Linked DNA regions of Homo sapiens: regions 1, 2 and 4 are each linked to region 3. The links are contacts of gene promoters, found by promoter capture Hi-C in blood cells and fetal thymus (Javierre and others, 2016). All regions are on one chromosome and are shown on one strand. Each heading gives the region's core, a stretch centred on a gene start or on the middle of the fragment in contact. The rest is flanking DNA. Distances are from core to core; before and after follow the strand shown. Region 1 has its middle 5.1 kb from the start of MIR4486. Region 2 has its middle 8.8 kb from the start of NAV2-AS4. Region 3 holds the start of MRGPRX2 (MAS related GPR family member X2). Region 4 holds the start of NAV2-AS5 (NAV2 antisense RNA 5).

Evidence for each region. The method cuts DNA at HindIII sites, captures the fragments that hold promoters and counts their contacts. A CHiCAGO score of 5 or more calls a contact.
Region 1: a fragment that was not itself captured here is called in contact with the fragment with the promoter of MRGPRX2 in region 3 in 1 of 17 cell types (erythroblasts); the score reaches 6.5 in erythroblasts.
Region 2: a contact is called between a fragment that was not itself captured here and the fragment with the promoter of MRGPRX2 in region 3, in 6 of 17 cell types (M1 macrophages, megakaryocytes, M0 macrophages and 3 more). The highest score is 6.7, in M1 macrophages.
Region 4: a fragment that was not itself captured here is called in contact with the fragment with the promoter of MRGPRX2 in region 3 in 2 of 17 cell types (megakaryocytes and M2 macrophages); the score reaches 7.5 in megakaryocytes.

Annotation. Positions count from the first base shown.
Region 1 is chr11:19,567,796-19,572,693 of GRCh38, reverse strand. It overlaps a transcript of NAV2 not described here. Among named protein-coding and RNA genes, the nearest start is that of MIR4486, 5.1 kb to the left of the region's middle. The HindIII fragment of the contact is 4,336 bases long and covers 132-4,467 here.
Region 2 is chr11:19,530,527-19,535,264 of GRCh38, reverse strand. It overlaps a transcript of NAV2 not described here. Among named protein-coding and RNA genes, the nearest start is that of NAV2-AS4, 8.8 kb to the right of the region's middle. The HindIII fragment of the contact is 807 bases long and covers 2,152-2,958 here.
Region 3 is chr11:19,059,449-19,064,700 of GRCh38, reverse strand. MRGPRX2 (MAS related GPR family member X2) reads left to right here and starts at 3,984. Exons shown (of 2, transcript NM_054030.4): 1 at 3,984-4,082. The HindIII fragment of the contact is 233 bases long and covers 3,964-4,196 here.
Region 4 is chr11:19,504,418-19,509,841 of GRCh38, reverse strand. NAV2-AS5 (NAV2 antisense RNA 5) reads left to right here and starts at 2,613. Exons shown (of 3, transcript NR_049725.1): 1 at 2,613-4,603. It also overlaps a transcript of NAV2 not described here. The HindIII fragment of the contact is 1,124 bases long and covers 982-2,105 here.

The DNA.
Region 1 (4,898 bases), core at 1,050-3,549, 510 kb before region 3:
GGGAGAGTTGGAGTTCAAACTCAGACAGACTGGTTCTGGCATCTATGTGCTGACCACCATGTAACTACCTTAAAAACATGGAAGTCATTATTATTACTAACAAGACGGGGTTGCCCTGGGCTGTCCAAGCTTTCTTGCTCTTCCCCAAAAGCCATGCTGTTTCCCCAAAATGAACACTCCAGAGCTTCCTGTTTAATCTTTTGCCCCAGGTCAAGTCCTTTTGTCAAGATATAAAATATTGAAGCCGAAAGGTTGCAGATAGAGTACTACAGCAAAGGGATGACAAAATTCCAATCTCTATTGCAGAGAAGGGTGGCTGAGCAAGGAATATGGCAAGCTGATGCCATATCCCCAAGTCTCAGTTTCCCCGTCTGCCAAATAAGAAGGGACGGAGGGCTTTAAGGCCTCTTCCAGTCCCTGATCTTAGAGTTCAGCGACACGGACCCTGGACCCTGACCTAAGCCATGGAGCATATTGTCAGGAGTGTTCAACTGACATCCGGAAGGCAGCAGCCTGGGCAAGCTGACTGTGTTGCCAGGCAGTGGGAGGAGCAGGCCATACTACCTAAGTCCATGGCTTGGGCCAAAAGAGCATCTTCCCATCTGCACCCCTGTGTCTGCCAGTGTTGTCCTGTGGTCCTGCCCCAGGTAGCAGGGGGCAGATGGTTCTACCTGCCAGTCTACTCATCCACAGGATGTCCCTAACACAGTGAGTGCTTAGAGGGTTGGGAAAGACCAAACCTGCCACAGTCTCCCCTCTCCTTCTTCATCCTCCCATCTCTGCACTTCCTATTTTGGGACTTCCTAACATATCTTATCATTCAGCCTTTGGGAAAAGCTGATTTCCAGTGGGAAGGGGATATAGTCATAATAAGTAATAGTAAAGGCACCATTTACTGACTGCTTTTCTGAGCTACACGTTTCTTTTTAATGAAAGTAAAATCGACATAACATAAAATTAAACTTTTCTTTTTTTTTTTTCTTTTTTGAGATGGAGTCTCGCTCTTGTTGCCCAGGCTGGAGTGCAGTGGTGCAATCTCAGCTCACTGCAACCTCCACCTCCTGGGTTCAAGCAGTTCTCCTGCCTCAGCCTCCCGAGTAGCTGGGATTTCAGGCACATGCCAACACTCCTGGCTAATTCTTATATTTTTAGTACAGATGGGGTTTCACTATGTGGCCAGGCTGGTCTTGAACTCCTGACATCAGGTGATCCACCCACCTTGGCCTCCAAAGTGCTGGGATTACAGGCTGGCACTGTGCCTAGCCGAAAAGTTTTCTAAAGTGTACAATTCAGTGACACTTAGTACTTTCATAATGCTGCGTAGCCTTCACTTCTAAGTGGTTCCAAGACATTTTCATCATCCCAAAAGGAAGCCTGTGTCCATTAAGGAGTCAGTTGCCATTCCTGCCCTCTCCTTTGCCCCTGGCAACAACTAACCTACTTTTGTCTCTCATGGATTTGCCTATTCTGGATAGTTCATAGAAATGAAATCATATAATATATGACCTTATGCCTGGCTTCTTTCACTTAACATAATGTTTTCAGAGTTCATCCATGTTGTGGCATTTGTCAGTACTTCACTTCTTTTTATTGCTGAATAATATTCCATTGTATGGATATACCATACTTTGTTTATCTATTAATCTGTTGATAGACATTTGGGTTGTTTCCACTTTTTGGCTATAATGAACACTGCTGCTATGAACATTCATGACCACATTTTTTAAACACTTGTTCTCAATTCTTTTTTGGTGTACGCCTAGAAGTAAAATTCCTGGGTCATATGGTAATTCCATGTTTAACTTTTTGAAATACCATCAACTGTTTTCTGCAGTGGCTGCACCATTTTACATTCCCACCAGCACTATAGGAAGGTTCTAATTTCCCCATGTCCTCAGAAACACTTGTTATTTTCAATTTTTTAAAAATTGTAGCCATCCTAGCGTGTGTGAAGTGGTATTTCATGGCGGTTTTGACTTGTTTGTCCCTAATGACTAATGATGTTAGCATCTTTCCATGTGCTTCTGGGCTATTTGTATATCTTCTTTGGAGAAATGTCTATTCAAGTCCTTTGCTCACTTTTTAATTGGTTTATTTATTTTAATCAGGTCTTTTTTAACATTGAGCTTTTGATATATTCTGAATACTAGACTTACCAGATATATGATTTGCAAATATTTTCTCCAAGTCTGAAGCTGTCATTTGGTGTAGAAAAGTTTTTAATTTTGATAAAGTCCAACTTATCCATTTTACCTGCTGTTGCTGATGGTTTTGATGTTGTATCTAACAATCCATTGCCAAATCCAAGGTCATGAAAATTTACCTCTAGGTTTTATCCTACAAGTTTTGTGTTAAGTGTTTTACATCTAATCTTCTTGACATCCTCTGGGTGAATTCCATCATCATCACCATTCCCATCTTAGAGACTAAGGGTCAGGGCATTTAAGTTACCTGCCTAATGACACACAGCCATGCAGAGCAGAGGCAGGGTTTGAATCTGTGTCTTCAGCTCCGGAGCCCAAGATGCCTATCATTCAGCCTCTCCAGATCTGCCTCCTGTTGCCCATTATCCCCTCATCTCCAATAATGTAGGTAGTGATAGGTAGTGATTCCACAAACAAAATGCTGGCCCCAAAATTTGAAGGGAAGGATGGAAGAAATACAGATGTTCCCCCTGATAGCTACAAGGAGTAATTCTGCTGCCTGGGAGGAAGGCTCAGGTGAGACAGCCACCTGGTTGAATACAAGGGGAAAGTCATCTTTACCTTTCAAAATTTAGCGTTAGTAGACTTTGTTGTGCTTTTGTACTTTCCTTCCTTATAAAGCAGCAACTCTGGGGCAGTGGGACAACCTCCATGAGCCATTTCATCTCATAACTCCCCATCCAGGGTGGTTAGGGGCAGTTCTCCCTCCCCAGGGAGCATCACATTGTAATCAGTTCCTGACAACGCAGCTCATTCCCCAGAGAAGGGGGTGAGATGTAGCCCTTTGCATCCTGATTCCTTGCCTTGAAGTTGACAGCAAACGTTCATTTACTGAGGTCTATTATGTACCAAGCTCTGTGCTATGGGGGCCACAGAAATAAGTTTTTCAAGTAGGCCAGCAGAGAATAGAGAGAGAGAGAGAAACAGCTGCCATAGTTTGAGGCAGAAGGCAGGATGGGACAGACCGAGATGGATATTAGGAATCAAATGTGGGAATATTCATTTATTCACTAAAAAAATTTTATGGGTTTTTCTTACATGCTAGACACTCTTTTAGATATTGGGATAAAACAGTGAAAAGACAGACAAGGTCGTTTGCCCTCATGGGGTTTACATTCCAGTGAGAAAGAGAGACAATAGACAAGGAACCAGCTTGAGATGGGATCAAGAAGAGGCTGCATTTGAGCTGAGCCCTGCAAAATGAGTAAGACATTAATGCATTGACAAGGAAGGGAAGGACATTCCAGACTAAGAGAAATGCATGAACAAGGGCAGGGAGGGATACAGCTCCTTGACATCTTGCAGGTGTATTTGCTAATTTCTTTATTATTTAAAACTTTTTTCCATGACTATAAACACTTTATTTTTATAAATTTAAAAAGTACAGAACAAGAAGAAAAATCATTTACCATTCCCTCACCCAGGATAATAAGTTTCATGACCATGCAGAAGCTGGATCCATTTGACTTCTCTGAAGTGCTGGGCCCAAGCATTCTGTGCTCAGCACCTGAAAAGCATATGCTGGGTGAGATAGAGCCTTGCTTTCTTCCAATGCTGCCTGTCACATAGAAGATGCGTAGGAGACCCAGGGCAGTACATCTGAAATGTAAGTTAATGACTTTGGCCCAATAACTCCTAATCAGATCCACTTAGATTAGAATTAGAGAGACCTCACCTTTGCATTCTCAGAGTGTGGCCAACGTGAATGGGGAGGTGACGTTAGCAGCACAGACTTGGGTTCTGAGACCTGGCTCAGCCTTATGTAACTAAGACCTTGGGCAAGTGCTCACCATCTTTGCTCCCCTTCCTTCAATGGGGGACTAAAGAACCGGGACTAGACCTACCTGGGAGGTGCTTTCATAAGAAGTCAATGAGATCAAGTCTGTGAAGTGCTTAGCAGGGTCTGACACAAACAGTGCTCCAGGAGAGAGCCTCTTATGCTCTGGACTTCTGGGTCAAGTTGGCTTTTGCCACTGTAAAGATCCATCTGTACAGCTTGGACATCCAGAACTCACAATCACAATCCAGAACTGGGCTCCAGACACACCCTCACCTCTAACTCTGCCTGCTCCATGTCCTTCCTCGAGTGTGAATCCTCCCAGGCTTCACATTGATTCCACAGCCCAAGTCTCTCACGTCTAGAGCCTCTCTCAGGGTCTCAGTACTGGAGCTCATTTCTACAAAAACTATTTTTACTGGGCATCCTTGCCTGAGCCTAGAGATCTCTGAGCCCCCAAAGACAGCCCTGGTGGCCTCCTAAGCTTCACAGAGTGATACTCAAAGGAAGAATGTGAGCTGTGGCTTGTGCCAAAGCCTAGAGAAGAATGTGCCAGGCCAAGGGAACAACAGGGGCAAATGGGCACAGGCACTGGTTCTCTGACTTGCTCATTCATGTTTCATCCATTCAACATTTACCGAGCACCTACTGTGAGCCAGGCGCTGCATCAGCTGCAGGATCACAGCTGTGAACAAGCACCTGCCCTCAGAGAGTGCACAGCCAGGGGGAGACAGAATATGAAATATGAAGTTACACTATAGTGTGATCGGTGTTAGGATGCGAGGGTACACAGAGCCCCTGACTGGGCATGAGGCAGGGTGTATGCAGCCTGGGGAGAAGGTCAGTGATGGGAGACCCCTCGGAAGGAGGAACTTTAACCTGAGCATGACTGTGAGTAGGTTCCTGGAGGATTTTCT
Region 2 (4,738 bases), core at 1,306-3,805, 470 kb before region 3:
TGCTCCAAGTCCCAGGATTCAAACCCCCTTCTCTGCCTCTCTTTCCATTCCAGCAGCTTCCTGTTTTCCCTGGTTCCTGTCTCACCTGATCTCCTCAGAGCCACTGCCAAGCCACTCTCCACAGCCCTGCCTGCACAATCTTGCTAAAATGCAAATCTATCATGTCCTTCATTTGCTTGGAAAATCTCTACTGGCTCCTTGTTAACCACATCAACAGGAATAGCAATGATTTATTAAGCACTTATTATGTCCCAGGCACTGTGCTAAGGACTTATTTTGCACTCAAAACAGCCCTACAATGGAAATATTAACCACATTTCCAAAATGATAAAACTGAAGTTAAGAGATGTGAAATTGCTGGCCAGTCATGCAGTGCACAAGTGGCAGAGTGAAGATTTGAACCAAGGTCTGAAATTAACTTCAAAGCTTACATCTTAACTACTAGTCTACATTGCCTCTTGGGTCCTGTTTGCTATAGGTTAGGGTCTGTTTCCTGGCATGGAATGCAAGGTCTCTCAGTTTTCCTCCTCTACTCCACCTCCCTCATTTTCTGCTGCTTCAAACATTGCACAGGGAGCCCTGCTGCTCCAAGTTCCATGCCATTGCTCCTTCCCTGCTCCCTGGGAGCCATCCATGATCCCCTGTATCTTCTTGCATCTGCAGATACTGTGTGATCCTCCTTTCCTCAAACTGAAGATCTTTCCTCATCTGCAAGACAGGTTCACTTGTTCCTTTCTCTGTGCTCCTTCACTTCTCTCTCTCTCACCTCTTTTATTGCTCTCCTTCCATGAGACACTGAGCTCGTAGGAAGCAGAGACTGTGCTATTCAACTCAGCTCCTAGCACAGAGCCTGGTGCTGTTGAGTAGGTGCTCAACATGTGTTCACCAAAGCTGTTGGACCCATGATTACAACCATGCACTGAAGTCTGCACTGTGGGTACAGCAGGGGACAAACTGGATCAGGTCCCACTAGATCAGGTCCGTGCCCTCTGAGATCCCACAGTCTAATGGGGGAGACAAGCAATAAACAAATAAGCAAATAAACACGATGCTACCAGGGGTTGGCCAACACTCTGCAGGCACTAAGCAGAGAGATGCAGTAAGGAGTAACTGGAATGATAAGCAAGGTGGCCTATGACATGGGGCTGTAAAAATGGAGACCCAAATGAAGAGGAGCCACAAGGGTGGCATGGGGTGACAAGTGCAAATGTCCTGAGATAAAACAATTCAGTGTGTCTGTGGATAAGATAGTTCCCAGAGGCCGGGCGCGGTGGCTCACGCCTGTAATCCCAGCACTTTGGGAGGCCGAGGCGGGCGGATCACGAGGTCAGGAGATCGAGACCATCCCGGCTAAAACGGTGAAACCCCGTCTCTACTAAAAATACAAAAAATTAGCCGGGCGTAGTGGCGGGCGCCTGTAGTCCCAGCTACTTGGGAGGCTGAGGCAGGAGAATGGCGTGAACCCGGGAGGCGGAGCTTGCAGTGAGCCGAGATCCCGCCACTGCACTCCAGCCTGGGCGACAGAGCGAGACTCCGTCTCAAAAAAAAAAAAAAAAAAGATAGTTCCCAGAGGGGAGAGAGAGAGAGACAGACAGACAGAAACAGAGGGGGTGGGGGTAGAGAAAGTGCACGTCTCAGAGAAGGTTTCAGTATGTGATATTTCCAGGAGGACAATGACTGAAAAGACAGGGAGAACCTGGTTTCATTGGGGTTTCACCCAGCCCTGCAGGAGGATGCCAGAGGGAGGAAAATGCCCAGGAACACACATGCCCAGGACATGTGTGGACATGGTCAGCTGATGGCCTTTGTAGGAGGGAGAGAGAATTGTTTACACCAATGTTTGTCAGCCTTGAAGAAGGGGGTGGATATAATTTTGACCCCAAGAACATTTCACAATGACTGCAGATATTTTTGGTCATCTCAGCTGGGGATGGGGAGTTGTCGCTAATGGCATCTAGTAGGTAGAGGCCGAGGATGCTGCTAAATAGCCCACAATACCCAGGACAGTCCTCCATCACAAAGATATATCTAGCTCCAAACGTCAATTGTGCTGAGGTTAAGAAACCCCGGTCTACACTATATTCCTGGTTGAAATGTTGATGCATCTGACTCTACTCAGCTCCTTGATTAGTCCTAGACTGACAACAAGCTTTCTCCCATCACTGAAACTCACTCCAACCCACTTTTCCCCTTCTTCCACCTCTAGCTCAGGAAACGTTCTCACAACAACCTGACCAAAGGAATCCCATTCAGTACCACTATGTGTGGACACTGGTCCTTGACTAGCAAATAATATGGTCAAAGAGCACTAAACCGAGAGTCCACAGGATTGGGGATGAGTTACCTCTACACTCCAACATCAGTTGCCTTCCTTTCTGTTGACCTTTTTGCAGGAACACTCCATTCCCATGAAAGTAGAGGGTCCCCAGAGACAAACTATCTTCCCCTTGTATGTGGGACAACCCTTTGAAGTTGCCTCGTGTCATAAGAAGGGGTTGCCCTTGGGCTCCAGCCACATGCTACTAAGTTTAGCTCAAGAATTATGCATCAATCCCAGCAGGGAGGCAGGGGGCTTTAAGCCAATGGCCTGAAATACTCTAGTCTGCAGCCTGGCTCCACCACCGTGAGTAGCCTGCTCCCTTTTTGGCCTCAGTTGCCTCATTAGTGAAATGGGAATCATAATACATGGCCGTTTATGATGATTAGTGATTATATTAATATAAATCACCTAGTAGATGTTCAAAGTACTGCAGCTAGTAGTATTGTTATGCCTGAGCTGGAAGAGGAATTAGAAATCACCCTGTCCAGACTCTTCATTTTATAGGGGCAGATGTTGAGGCCCAGAGAAAGAAACAGATGGACTTTTTTTCTGGGTTTTGAGATGATAGAGTAGACATTATACTTGCATATTACTGATGAGAAAACAGTCCAGCAGTGAACCAGGCGAGCTGAAAAGCTTGGCCTTTCTGGGCAATGCCACACAGCTAGTGCTGGGTGATGCCCTGTGTTACAATTCTGGCCATCTGTGAGTCCTGAGTCCCCAGACCAAAGCCCTGCAGAGCAGCTCCACAGTGGCTCCTATTCCAGAAAAGATCTTTCACTGCCCAACTTTCCACTGGGCTCGAAATGGGCCATGAATCTCCCTGCTCAAAAATTTGCCATGCTAGTGCTCAGTCCTTTATACTTCTATTAGTTTCCATTGCTTTTAATGGCAAACACCACAATTACTTTTGCACCAACCTAATTTTTTTTCTTTCTCTTTATCCTCTATCACTCCCTTGGTGATTTCCTCAACTCTCACAGCTGTTAATACCATCCATATACTGGAAACTCCCAAACTTACTAAATCCCATTGACTCTAAACCACACATTTTTTCCACATTTTAATATCTCTGAAGTTGCAGTGTATCCTAGCTTAATGGACAGTGCTTTTTCTTGGTAGTAAATAAAATAATGGTCTTATAGTCAGTGGCCTCTTTGGTTTGATTAAATATTGGACATATTTACCCCTAGAACACACCCTTGAATTCCAAACTCAAAAATCACAATGGCTTTTCAACATGTCCCTTGGACTAGTAATAGACATCTCAAACACAAATGAGTCCATTTGAATTCCCAACCTTTCATTCTCCCCTGTCTCAGCAACTGGCAATCCCATCCCTCCAGTTGTTCAGGCCAAAATCTTGGAGTTACCATAGACTCCTTTCTTTCTCTTGTAATCTGCATCCAATCTGTCAACAAATTTTGCTGGCTCACTTAAAAATAAATTCTGAGTCCAATCATTTCCTACCAATCTGCTACCATTATCTGGAGACAAGAACTTCTTGTTTCTTACCTAGATTATCTCCATTGCCTCCTAACTGGCCCCCTGCTTCTTTGACTACCTACGGTCTTGGCTCAGAGCAGCAGCCAGAGTGAGCCTGTGATTAAAACAGCCTTAGCTCCCTGCCCAAATCACTCCCTGCCTCCTTACTCTGGTTCATTTTTAAAGTAACTTATAATTAGGTGCTATTACATATATTTCTTTCTTTCCATGTCTATCTTCTGTTTCCCCTACCAGAATGTGAGCCCCATGAAGGCAAAGATTTTATCTGTCATGTTTAGTGCCTAATCCCTACTCTCTAGCATAGTCTATATATTTCTTCAATACCTACTCTATGCCAGGCAATAAATACATAAATACATAGAAATAGTAGTAATCTTTGTTGGATGAATATTATAAATATTTGTTGAAATACATACCGATATTTAATAAATAAATACTAGTTGGTAAATGAAGTATATATAAATATTTGTTGAGTGAATCAGTTTTCACAGGATAATGCTTTCAAGGGAGCAATGACTTTGAAGTCAAACTAACCTGAGTTCAAATTCTGAATATACTACTTCGTGGCTGTGGGACTTGGCAGATTCATTTAAACTCTCAGCCTGTTTCTAATCTGTATAATTGGAAGAATTAGGCCGACCTTTCAGGGCTGTTTTGAGTTAATGTGCATACAGTGCCTGCACAGTCCATGACACATAGCAGGTGCTTGGTTTTTTATCGTTTATTACTTTATTACTGTTGTTCCAACCTCTACATTTAGCCACGGAGCTCTGGAGCTTGTCACAAAACCACAGCACATTTCCGTGGCAGGTGAACTCAGACAGAAGCACAGCGGTGTCCATGCTTTGGGGGTGGGAAGACTTGGATTCAAGTCCACGTGATACCATCCATCAGCAGGGTGACCCTGGGCAT
Region 3 (5,252 bases), core at 2,735-5,234:
TGTATATTTAGAAAACTCCATTGTCTCAGTCCCAAATCTCCTTAAGCTGATAAGCAACTTCAGCAAAGTCTCAGGATACAAAATCAATGTGCAAAAATCACAAGCATTCCCATACACCAATAATAGACAAACAGAGAGCCAAATCATGAGTGAACTCTCATTTACAATTGCTACAAAGAGAATAAAATACCTAGGAATACAATTTACAAAGGATGTGAAGGACCTCTTCAAGGAGAACTACAAACCACTGCTCAAGGAAATAAGAGAGGATACAAACAAATGGAAAAAAATTCCATGCTCATGGATAGGAAGAATCAATGTCGTGAAAATGGCCATACTGCCCAAAGTAATTTATAGTTTTAATGCTATCCACGTCAGGCTACCATTGACTTTCTTCACAGAAGTAGAAAAAACTACTTTAAATTTCATATGGAAACAAAAGAGATCCTGTATAGCCAGGACAATCCTAAGCAAAAAGAATAAAGCTGGAGGCAACACACTACCTGACTTCAAACTATACTACAAGGCTACAGTAACCAAAACAACATGGTGCTGGTACTAAAACATATATATCGACCAGTGGAACAGAACAGAGGCCTCAGAAATGATGCCACACATGTACAACCATCTGATCTTTGACAAACCTGACAAAAACAAGCAATGGGGAAAGGATTCCTTATTTAATAAATGGTGTTGGGAAAACTGGTTAGCCATATGCAGAAAACTGAAACTGGACCCCTTCCTTACACCTTATACAAAAATTAACTCAAAATGGATTAAAGACTTAAACATAAGACCTAAAACCATAAAACCCTAGAAGAAAACCTAGACAGTACCATTCAGGACATAGGCATGGGCAAAGACCTCATGAATAAAACACCAAAAGCAATGGCAACAAAAGCCAAAATTGACAAATGGGATCTAATTAAACTAAAGAGCTTCTGCACAGCAAAAGAAACTATCATCAGAGTGAACAGGCAACCTACAGAATGAGAGAAAATTTTTGCAATCTATCCATCTGACAAAGGGCTAATATCCAGAATTTACAAGAAACTTAAACAAATTTGTAAGAAAAAATAAACAACTCCATCAAAAAGTGGGTGAAGAATATGAACAGAGACTTCTCAAAAGAAGATATTTATATGGCCAACCAACATGAAAAAATGCTCATCATCACTGGTCATTAGAGGAATGCAAATTAAAACCACAATGAGATACCATCTTACACCAGTTAGAATGGAAATCATTAAAAAGTCAGGAAACAACAGATGCTGGAGAGGATGTGGAGAAATAGGAACGCTTTTACACGGTTGGTGGGAGTGCAAATTAGTTCAACCATTGTGGAAGACAGTGTGGCGATTCCTCAAGGATCTAGAACCAGAAATACCATTTGTCTCAGCAATCCCACTACTGGGTATATACCCAAGAGATTATAAATCATTCTACTATAAAGACACATGCACACATACGTTTATTGCAGCACTATTAACAATAGCAAAGACCTGGAACCAACCCAAATGCCCATCAATGATAGACTGGATAAAGAAAATGTGGTACATATACACCATGGAATTCTATGCAGCCGTAAGAAAAGGATGAGTTTATGTTCTTTGCAGGGACGTGGATGAAGCTGGAAACCATCATTCTCAGCAAACTAACACAGGAACAGAAAACCAAACACTGCATGTTCTCACTCATATGTGGGAGTTGAACAATGAGAACACATGGATACAGGGAGGGGAACATCACACACTGGGGCCTCTCAGGGGGTGGGGAGCTAGGAGAGGGATAGCACTAGGAGAAATACCTAATGTAGATGACGGGTTGATGGATGCAGCAAACCACCACGGCATGTGTATACGTAGGTAACAAACCTGCACGTTCTGCCCATGTATCGCATAACTTAAAGTATAATTTTAAAAAAATAAAATAGAACTTCTAGAAATTAGTAATATAAAAATTGGATTTAAACTTCAGTGGATAGATTAAACAGATGATTAGACACAATGGAAAGAATCTAGTTAACTGGAAGATACATCTGAAGAAATTACCCAGAAAGCAGCCTCAGAGACAGAGACGAGACATAAGGAAAAGGTTAAAGAAATAAGGATGATAGAAGAAGAGGGCTAACATATGTTGAATTAGACTTCCAGAAAGAGATAATACTAAAAGTGATAATGAGAGCTAATAATTTTATAGTACTTACTATGTGCTCCTATTGTAAATCATTTATATACATTAAATTATTAATCTTCACAGCAAACCTATAGATTAATAATGTTATCCCCATTTTACTGATGAGGAAACAAACATAACAGAGTTACAAAATCTGGCTAAGGTCCCATAGGAGAAATGCCAAGTAGCCTGGTCTTGTGTTCTTCACCGTTATGTTAATATTTAAAGAGATTATAGCATTAAATTGTTTAAAAATGTTAAATGATGATAATTTTAAAATCTAGGAAACTCCACAAATCCCAAACATGATTTGAAAAAGAGTCACCAGATACAATTTGGTGAGAATGTATCATAGCAGAGAAAAATAAAAGCTCTTAGAGGAAAAAAAGGCAGATCACCACAAGCAAATGGCAACCTGACTGATGGCCGCAACAGTAACCCTGGCAGTCAGAACATGGATCTTCAATGTGCTGGAAGAAAGAAACTATCACCCTACAATGCCATGCCTGGAAAAACCATCTTTAGAAGACGAGGGTGAAACAATGACATTTTCAGATAGATAAAAGGAGGCATTTACCATGCAGAGACTCTCACAGAAGGAACTCCTGAAGAATGTGTTTTGAGAAATGGAAGATATGAGATGTAAAATGGGAGGATGAGCAAAAGCATTGGTGATTATGTGGATAAATCTGAATAAACACTGACTATTTAAAACAATAATAAGTGTTTCATTTGTTGGAGGGAAACAGAATCAAAATCAAATAATAGAGCACAGTAGGTTAGACAGTAACAGAAGTTAAAGCTTTCTAAGGTCCTGCTGCTGCTCATGAGGAAAGCAGATTTCTGGGGACAAATGCATGGTTTACCCACTGCACCAAAGTATAATACAAGAAAATGCTGAGTCTCAGAACTCGCCTCAATCAACACATGTTCCCTGTCTGAGGTCACCCAGCTGCTCTGGAATGCAAAGGGGCATGATCTTGTATGGTGTTCATCATTGTGTCTTCATTGCCTGGAACGGTACCTGACATATCATAGGCAAACAATAAACAGTGTTGAATGAATGAATAAATGAGTGAATAATTTCTTCTGATTGTCTTAAATGCTTCATAATTGTTACTTATAACTCAATTTGGCTGCAGCATAGGCACATGAAAGGAAGTCATAGGAGATAAGGCTGAAAATATTGGTTGGCTCTAGATGATCTAAAAATAATCTAGCTAATAAATATCATGATGTAGAGGGAGAAACGTGACAGATGGTGCATGTGATGTGCTAAGTCCCCTATATTTTATAAGGAGACTCAATATATCTAGTTGTTAACATCGATAAATCAAAAATAGAAATGTTGTTTTATTACGCAAAGCTTTTTTAAAAAAAAGAATGGAAACTGTATGCAGTGGTTGCTTTTGGGGAATGAGACTTCGAGAGACTTTGCATTTCATTTTATACACCTTAGTGTCATTTGAAATAAACCTGATTTTGAAAGGTCAAGTAAGCCAGGGCCTTGAATGCCAAGCAGAAGAGGGCAGACTATTCTTTAGCTATGAAAGCTCACGTCGCTTGATTGGTCTGCTTCCTGGATGCTCATTGTGGGCAATGAAAGACTTCAGGACGGTGATTCCTTGCAGGGAGTGGGGCCGGAGAGGGTAGGGGAGAAACCAAGATAAGTGATTGGAGTCAGGGCAAATGCTGAGAAACATCTCATGTGGTTTCCTGTGTCATACTCTTATTTTCCAGCACCCTCTGTACAGGAAATCACAGGGTTGTTGAGCATCTTGATAAGCTTCACTCAGTCATCAGGTTTCACTCCAGATCCTGCAGGCATCTCCCCATCCTCAGCTGTTTGCCAGTCCCAGGAAAGCACTTCTCAACTCACCAACTCCAGTAGAAAGAAGGGTGTTAAGGTAAGAGTTTGTTCAAGAACCATCTTCTTTCAAAGGCAGTTTTGGTTTTTACCTTAGTCCACATCCTGATGAATTCATTAGGAAAAGAAGACAGGAAGCTCCTTTGAGGAAGCTTTGGATGCTGGCAGCTTAGATGCTGGGAGATCCGAATGGGGTCAAGCAGGTTCGTCCCACTTCTCTTCTATCTACCAATATTCTCCCCTTCTCTTCGACCATTCAAATCTGAAACTATGGAGAGAAAGATTTTGCTGATTTTAATTTAGGGGCAGGCTAGAATGAAGTCATTACTTCCCTAAGCTAAATTGTTATTTAAAACCTCAGGTTGCACTGATTTTCTTGTTATTCAAAAGGTTTTTCCTTCATATCTGTCATTGTCCCAGCAGAAAACACACATCACACACTCTAAAGGGGTAGTTTAGAGGAGTTTAGTGAAGAGACTGTTTACAACGGCGTGAACAGGGATTAAGGAATGATGAAGCCCTCAAAGGCAAGTGATAGTGGAGGGCTGTTACCGTTGCTAGGTCTGAAGTGATAAGGAGAAAGAGAAGTTCTGAGAACTCAGAATGTGCTGTAGCGGTAACTGTAACTGTAACTATAGCTGTGGCTACAGGAAAGGGCCACCAGGCAGGGCTATGTCCTTAGGTAGAAAAACACTGCCACTGCCAACTCACAGCCCTTCAGGGCGCAGGGAGAGAGCCAGGAAATTTTTAAAAAATCATCCCCCAATCTACTGTCAATGTGTCCCTTTGGCTGAAAAAAAAAGTCACCCTCCAATCTCCTGTCAATGTGTACCCTTTGGAGCCTGAGTGAAAGACAGCCCATTGACGAGGCACAGACATGTCTCCTCCCAGGATGCAAAGGCAGGTAGAGAAGGATGGACATGAGATCCTAATAGCAAATAGGAAAGTCCATTTCTTCCCATAGCCTCTTCTCAGTTTGTCTTTCCTGAGACTTTCTCTATTAATGTGATTGAATCAATTTCTCATTCTATCACCTCCCTTTTTTTTAATTGTTTGACCTTCCCATCTAGTGTCACTTCTTTGGACTAGTCTCTCACTATCATCATAAATGCCTTGAGAATGGAATGTGGTTGGGAAAAAAAGGGATTGGGAGTACATAGGTACTCCCAGCTATAAGTACACAGGTATGTGTAATGTAAGTTTATGATTT
Region 4 (5,424 bases), core at 294-2,793, 450 kb before region 3:
GTTTTGGGTGAGATTAAAGCAATTCTAGCAAATGTCAGGGGCTCAACTGCCCAGTGCATTAGAATAAAATTTCATTTTCTCCTTAGAGTTTTAGGGGCAGTGATTCTAAGGCTTTAGGGGGGAAACATTGATGAAATCTAAAGAACCAGCAAAGAGAAGGTGGGGCAAACAATTATCTTCTCATCTTGCCTGCTGCTGCTGATTGCATTATCATTTATCGCAGTGCCTGCTCTCACCTAGGAAAAGCATCTTGCAATATCGGGTTGAATAAATATCCCAACCATCGGTGCGGGAATACAAGCCCAAATCAGCCAAATCTTCAGTGCATTTGCATCTAATCCCTTTATAATCCTTTCTATGGAATGCAGTAAAAGCTGAGCAAGACATTCCAGCCTTCCCTGGGTGCACAGGACACACACACCCTTGCTCAAACTCCATAATGTAATTATCCAAGGTGCCTCCTTTGAGGGTTTGGGGCCCCAGCACTCATGCTAATGACGTAGTTCCTGTCCAAGATGATTTTGTGCACTTGCATGCGCATGCACACACAGACACACACACCCACACACACAAACACACTAATAAACAATAGGGGACGAAACCTCCAAAGGAAAGTGAATGAGTTGGCACAGACCTTAAGGGTTGCCTCGCTCACTCATCCCCAACCCCATTTTACAGAAGAGGACACTGAAGTCCAGAGTAAGGGACTGACAAGTCCTAATGCTCTGTCCTTTTTCTGTTTCCTCATTTGTCACATGCAAATAATTTCTTCTATATTGCAGGGTATTTGAGGATACAATGAGAAACACAAGCCCTGAAATGTAGTAGATGCTTAATAATTTTACTTTCTGCTCTTCCTTCTCAAACTACCCAGTTATGTAATAATTTTGTTTTGTTTGCTTTCTCCTGAACACTTAGTAGGACCACAATATTAAGGAAGCTAGGAAATTTATGAAGGGCTCACCTTGCAAAGCATAAGCTTTTCCCCCAGGGCAGATGTTGAGATTTCGGAGGTTTTACTTGCTAGTTCATTTATTTAACAAATTCAGAGTCAGCCACTGTTACAGGCATTTGGGGATTCAATAGTGAATAAAACATTTATTGAGAGAGATAAATCTTAAATCATTATACTCATAATCATTTAATTAAAATTCTGATTAAGTGATACAAAAGGCAGACAGGTGGCTGTTGGAGTACAGGACGGGGAACTTAGAGACTGGAGTGGAGGATAATCAGGGAAGGCTTCCCTGAAGAGGTAACATTTACATGCAGGTATGAAAGGTGATTAGGAACTCGCCCAACAGTAAATGGGACTGAGAATGAGAACTGCGAAGAGAAGCCCAGGAGGAAGGAGTAGAAACATATGCAAAGGCCCTGAGGAGAGAAGGTACCTGCCACACTTAAATAACCAAATAGGATTAGCAGGAAGTCCAAGGGGCTGGTTTTGTGCTTGTATGCTTATTTGTTTTTCTTTAGTTTGGAAGAGGACAAAGGTCAGCATCCATAGAGCCCTGGGGAGGAAGGGCCATTAGAGTGGATAGTCAATGAGTCAGCCTTGACTCATCCTGACCCTGATTCTGACCCATGGATCAGGTCAGGGTAGGAGTTGCTGCAACTCCAGAGGAATCAGTAGGACAGCCTCAGGAAGAGAAGGCTGAACCCCTGAGACAGAGCAAGGCTGGTCCACAGAGCAGCCCCCATCAGCATGTGCTTATTAAAACAATCTCCCTCCTTCATCCCACCCCACCACTGCCCTTGCTATAAAAGGAAACATACTTTCCATTTCATCAAGGACCAACCTTTCAGAGCCAACTGAAATCCAGAAATGCATGTCTCTTAGGCTTCACGTATTTATTAATCCTCATCCCAGGGGCACTGTGTATAAGGGTTAAAAGCCTGGGCTCTGGAGTTAGACTGCCTGAATTTGAATCCTGACATTGTCATTTACTAGCTGTGTGACCTCAGGCAAATCTCTGAACCTCCGTGTCCTGATCTATAACTTGAGGATAACAATGGACTCACTGATAGGGTTGTTATAAAGATTAAATGAGATAATGTACACAACATAGGGACATATAGGTGGAAGCCTTCAATAAATGGAAGCTTTATGATGATTATAATGATGATGATTTCATTAATATCATCGGCATCATAGAAACCATGTAGTATCTGTCTATAATGCTCCAGAAACTGAGCTAAGCATTTCACATCCTTTATTTTCAATGTTCCTCCAACTTTGGTTTAATGATCCCCATTTTCTAAATAAGGAGACAGGCTCAGAGAAATTAAGTGATGCAGCTATTTAGTGACACAGTGCAGATTCAAACCCAGGCTCCAAAAGTAGTCTACCCTCCACATTTCTATACCAAATTAGCCACTTCTCATCAAAATCCTGTAAAATCCTGTTAATTACAACAAATGAGGATGAAGTCAGTTTATACTACCTGTTCATTAATTGGCAGATTTTTAACATCATTCCTTGTCCCAGGAGGACTCTCCAGGGGTCTATTATTACCATACAATTCTTTGGGGGAAATGAAACAACAGCTGGCCCTGCCAGTCACCATGGCAACACTCCTGTAACTACTAGAACCATGTCAACAGCAACTTTATACATACATACAGATTCCAAATTTGCACTTAACTGCTATATTATGTATGTACTTGTTCATGACACCACTTGGAATTCAGGTAGAGGTATTTTCAATCAGCTCCAACATCCCTTTCCTTCCTTGGATGTTTCCAAGACACCATCAAGCCAGGCACATTTAGGCAGAGAGGTTGCTGGGGAGAATAGAACATTGCCAAGCTCTGGCGCCAAATACTGCACTCTGGCAACGTGTAAGTGTAAGGCAGGCATTGTGGGTGTGTGACCTCTGCAATCACACAGGGCCTCATGCTCAGGAGGGCCCTGTGCTTGATTCAATACTCTGCTGGCCCCATCTTGAAATTCTTAATGATTTTTGAACAAGGGGCTCCACATGTCCATTTATCAGTGAGCCCCTCAAATTATATAGCCAGTTTTGTGTGAGGACAAAGCAATGGACAGATACTATGAAGCTCCTTTCTGGGTGGCATTTTCTCTTTCTTTTCTCCTTCCTTTCAGAGCTACCAAGTCACCCCACACTCTAGCTCAAGAGCTCTACCTGACCAAAACTCAATGGCCTTTCCTCAGGAAATCCAGCTATGCTAATGCCACCAGAACTGAGTCAGAACTCCTAACTCTACAAATATGGCTCCTCTGTATTGAGTGCCTGCTAGGTGCCAGGCACAACACTCAACTGGGACCAATATTATTTCTGATCTGGGAGATAGATAGGTATGATCAGCCCCATTTCACAGTTGAGGACATTGAGGCTCAGAGAGATTCAGTGACTTGTCCAAGGTCACACAGTGCATCAAACACAAATCTGATGAGCCTTCTCAAAGGCTCTTGATGCCACCTGCTTCCAGAACATTCTGCCACTCACTCTGCCTAGGCTGCTGCCCTGCCTGACTTGAGCTCAGGCAGTTCTGCCACTTGGGTCAGATCGGCTACAAGTCCTGGAGTATGGGCCCTTCCTAGCCCCATGCCTATAGTTTCTGGCTCCTCTTACCTCTTCCAGATTTGGATGAAAACACTCTCCAGCATGGGGTGGGAACTGGTCTCCTGAGAGGCTGCCATTAGGACTGGGTGATACAATCCTGAAGTGCAGAAGAGTTAACCCCCACTAGGAAAACTTTGACCAGTGGAAAATAGGAGTTGAGAGGGAGCAGGACACATACATTCCTTCTTCCTCTCTCCATGGACTGCTTCATGACAGTCTGCCTTGCCGCTCATCCAGCTGAATCCCACGTGTCATGCTGAAAGGTCTTGTGCAGTGACCTTCTGGGTGTCTCCATGGCTGTTTGTGACATAATAGCCATCAAGGAAACACACCACTTAGTGTGGCTTTGCATCCTTCTTTGCCTCGCTTCCTTGTGTCTCACCTTTGCTGCCATGGATTTGCATCTTCCAAATGAAACATCTCACTTTCAATTTTTGCCCCAGGCTCTATCTTCTAGAGAAGCTAGCCTAACATACATATAGGAAGGGCAGCCTTCCCACTCAGCCCAGGGTGTGGTGGAACTTCATTTAGGCTGCATGTGAAAATTGGCCACCTGCTTTGCTGTAAATGTGATTTGTGGTTCTCTACTGTCCAACTGCTGTAGGAATGGCCCCCACCTGAGAGATGCAATGGCCATTCCAGCTTGCTGGCCAGTACAGGCCTTCCTTCTTCTCTCTCTCCCCACTCCATCTGCATGACCCGACCCACCCCACCTCAAGGCATGGTTAATTGTTCATTAGTGACACCTGGCCCAAGTTGACCCAATGAATCTCTCCCTCTGTTGGGATTTTTAAACTCAGGACTAAGTGATTCCATCTCCGCTTCTTTCTACATACTCTCTCCAAAACCACATATGCAGTGTCTACAGCTCTAAGTAAGAAATCCTGGGAGTGGTCAGTGGACATCCTTTCTGTTATGTGGGTAATGTCAATCTGCAGCATGAGAGAAGAATTCCACCAATATGCAGAGAGAAACAGAGGCAGGAGCTACAGAGAATGTCCTAATGGCAGTCTCAGGTATGTGGCTTTCTGCATTCCAAAGCTCAACTGCTCTTCCACCCTCCCCAAGGTTCAGTTGCTCTGTGTGCTCACGCAGTAACCTCCATTAAATGTCCCTTGTGGCCTAATCCTATTCTAATTATGCTTTTGCCATTTGTGACAGACGGAAGTACAGCTAGCACAGTGTATTCCCCCAAGGGGTGAGAGAATGGGAAGATGGGAAGAGGCTAAGTTTTGGACTCCAACAGGCCTGGGTTTCAGTCTCGAACTCCATCACTTTCTATCTGTGGACCATGGACAAGTCATTTAACCTCTCTGTGCCTGAGGTTCCTCATCTGAAAATTAGAGGAATAACACTATGTTTCAAGGCAGATGTGAGGATCGAATTGGGACCAGTTTTACAAATAACATTCTTAGCACAGGGCCCCCACACAGAAACTGCTCAAAAATGTGAATTACTTTTTCCTACCTTACATGCCAGGGGGAGGGGCTATCTCTAAAGGCAGGCTTTGCTTCAGCCCCAGACCCCATTTTGTTGGGTCAGAAAGCACTGTTGGTTACTATAAACTGTCCTCATTCCCAGCACTTTGGAAGGGGAAAACAAGACCTAGAGGCCTTCCCCAGAAATCAGAGATTCATAAACTTTCATCCCTGAAGCGTATCTCTCAGATAGGATAGCTCCACCTTTCACATTGGGCTGCTCTGAAAATCCTAAAGAGTGGTCACTCAGTTTGGACTTGAATATGTCTCCTAACAGGAACCTCCCTCCCTCCCCAAAGCAGCGCATTACATTTTTACATAACTCTGACATGAATAAAGGTTTAAGTTTCCCTCTTCCA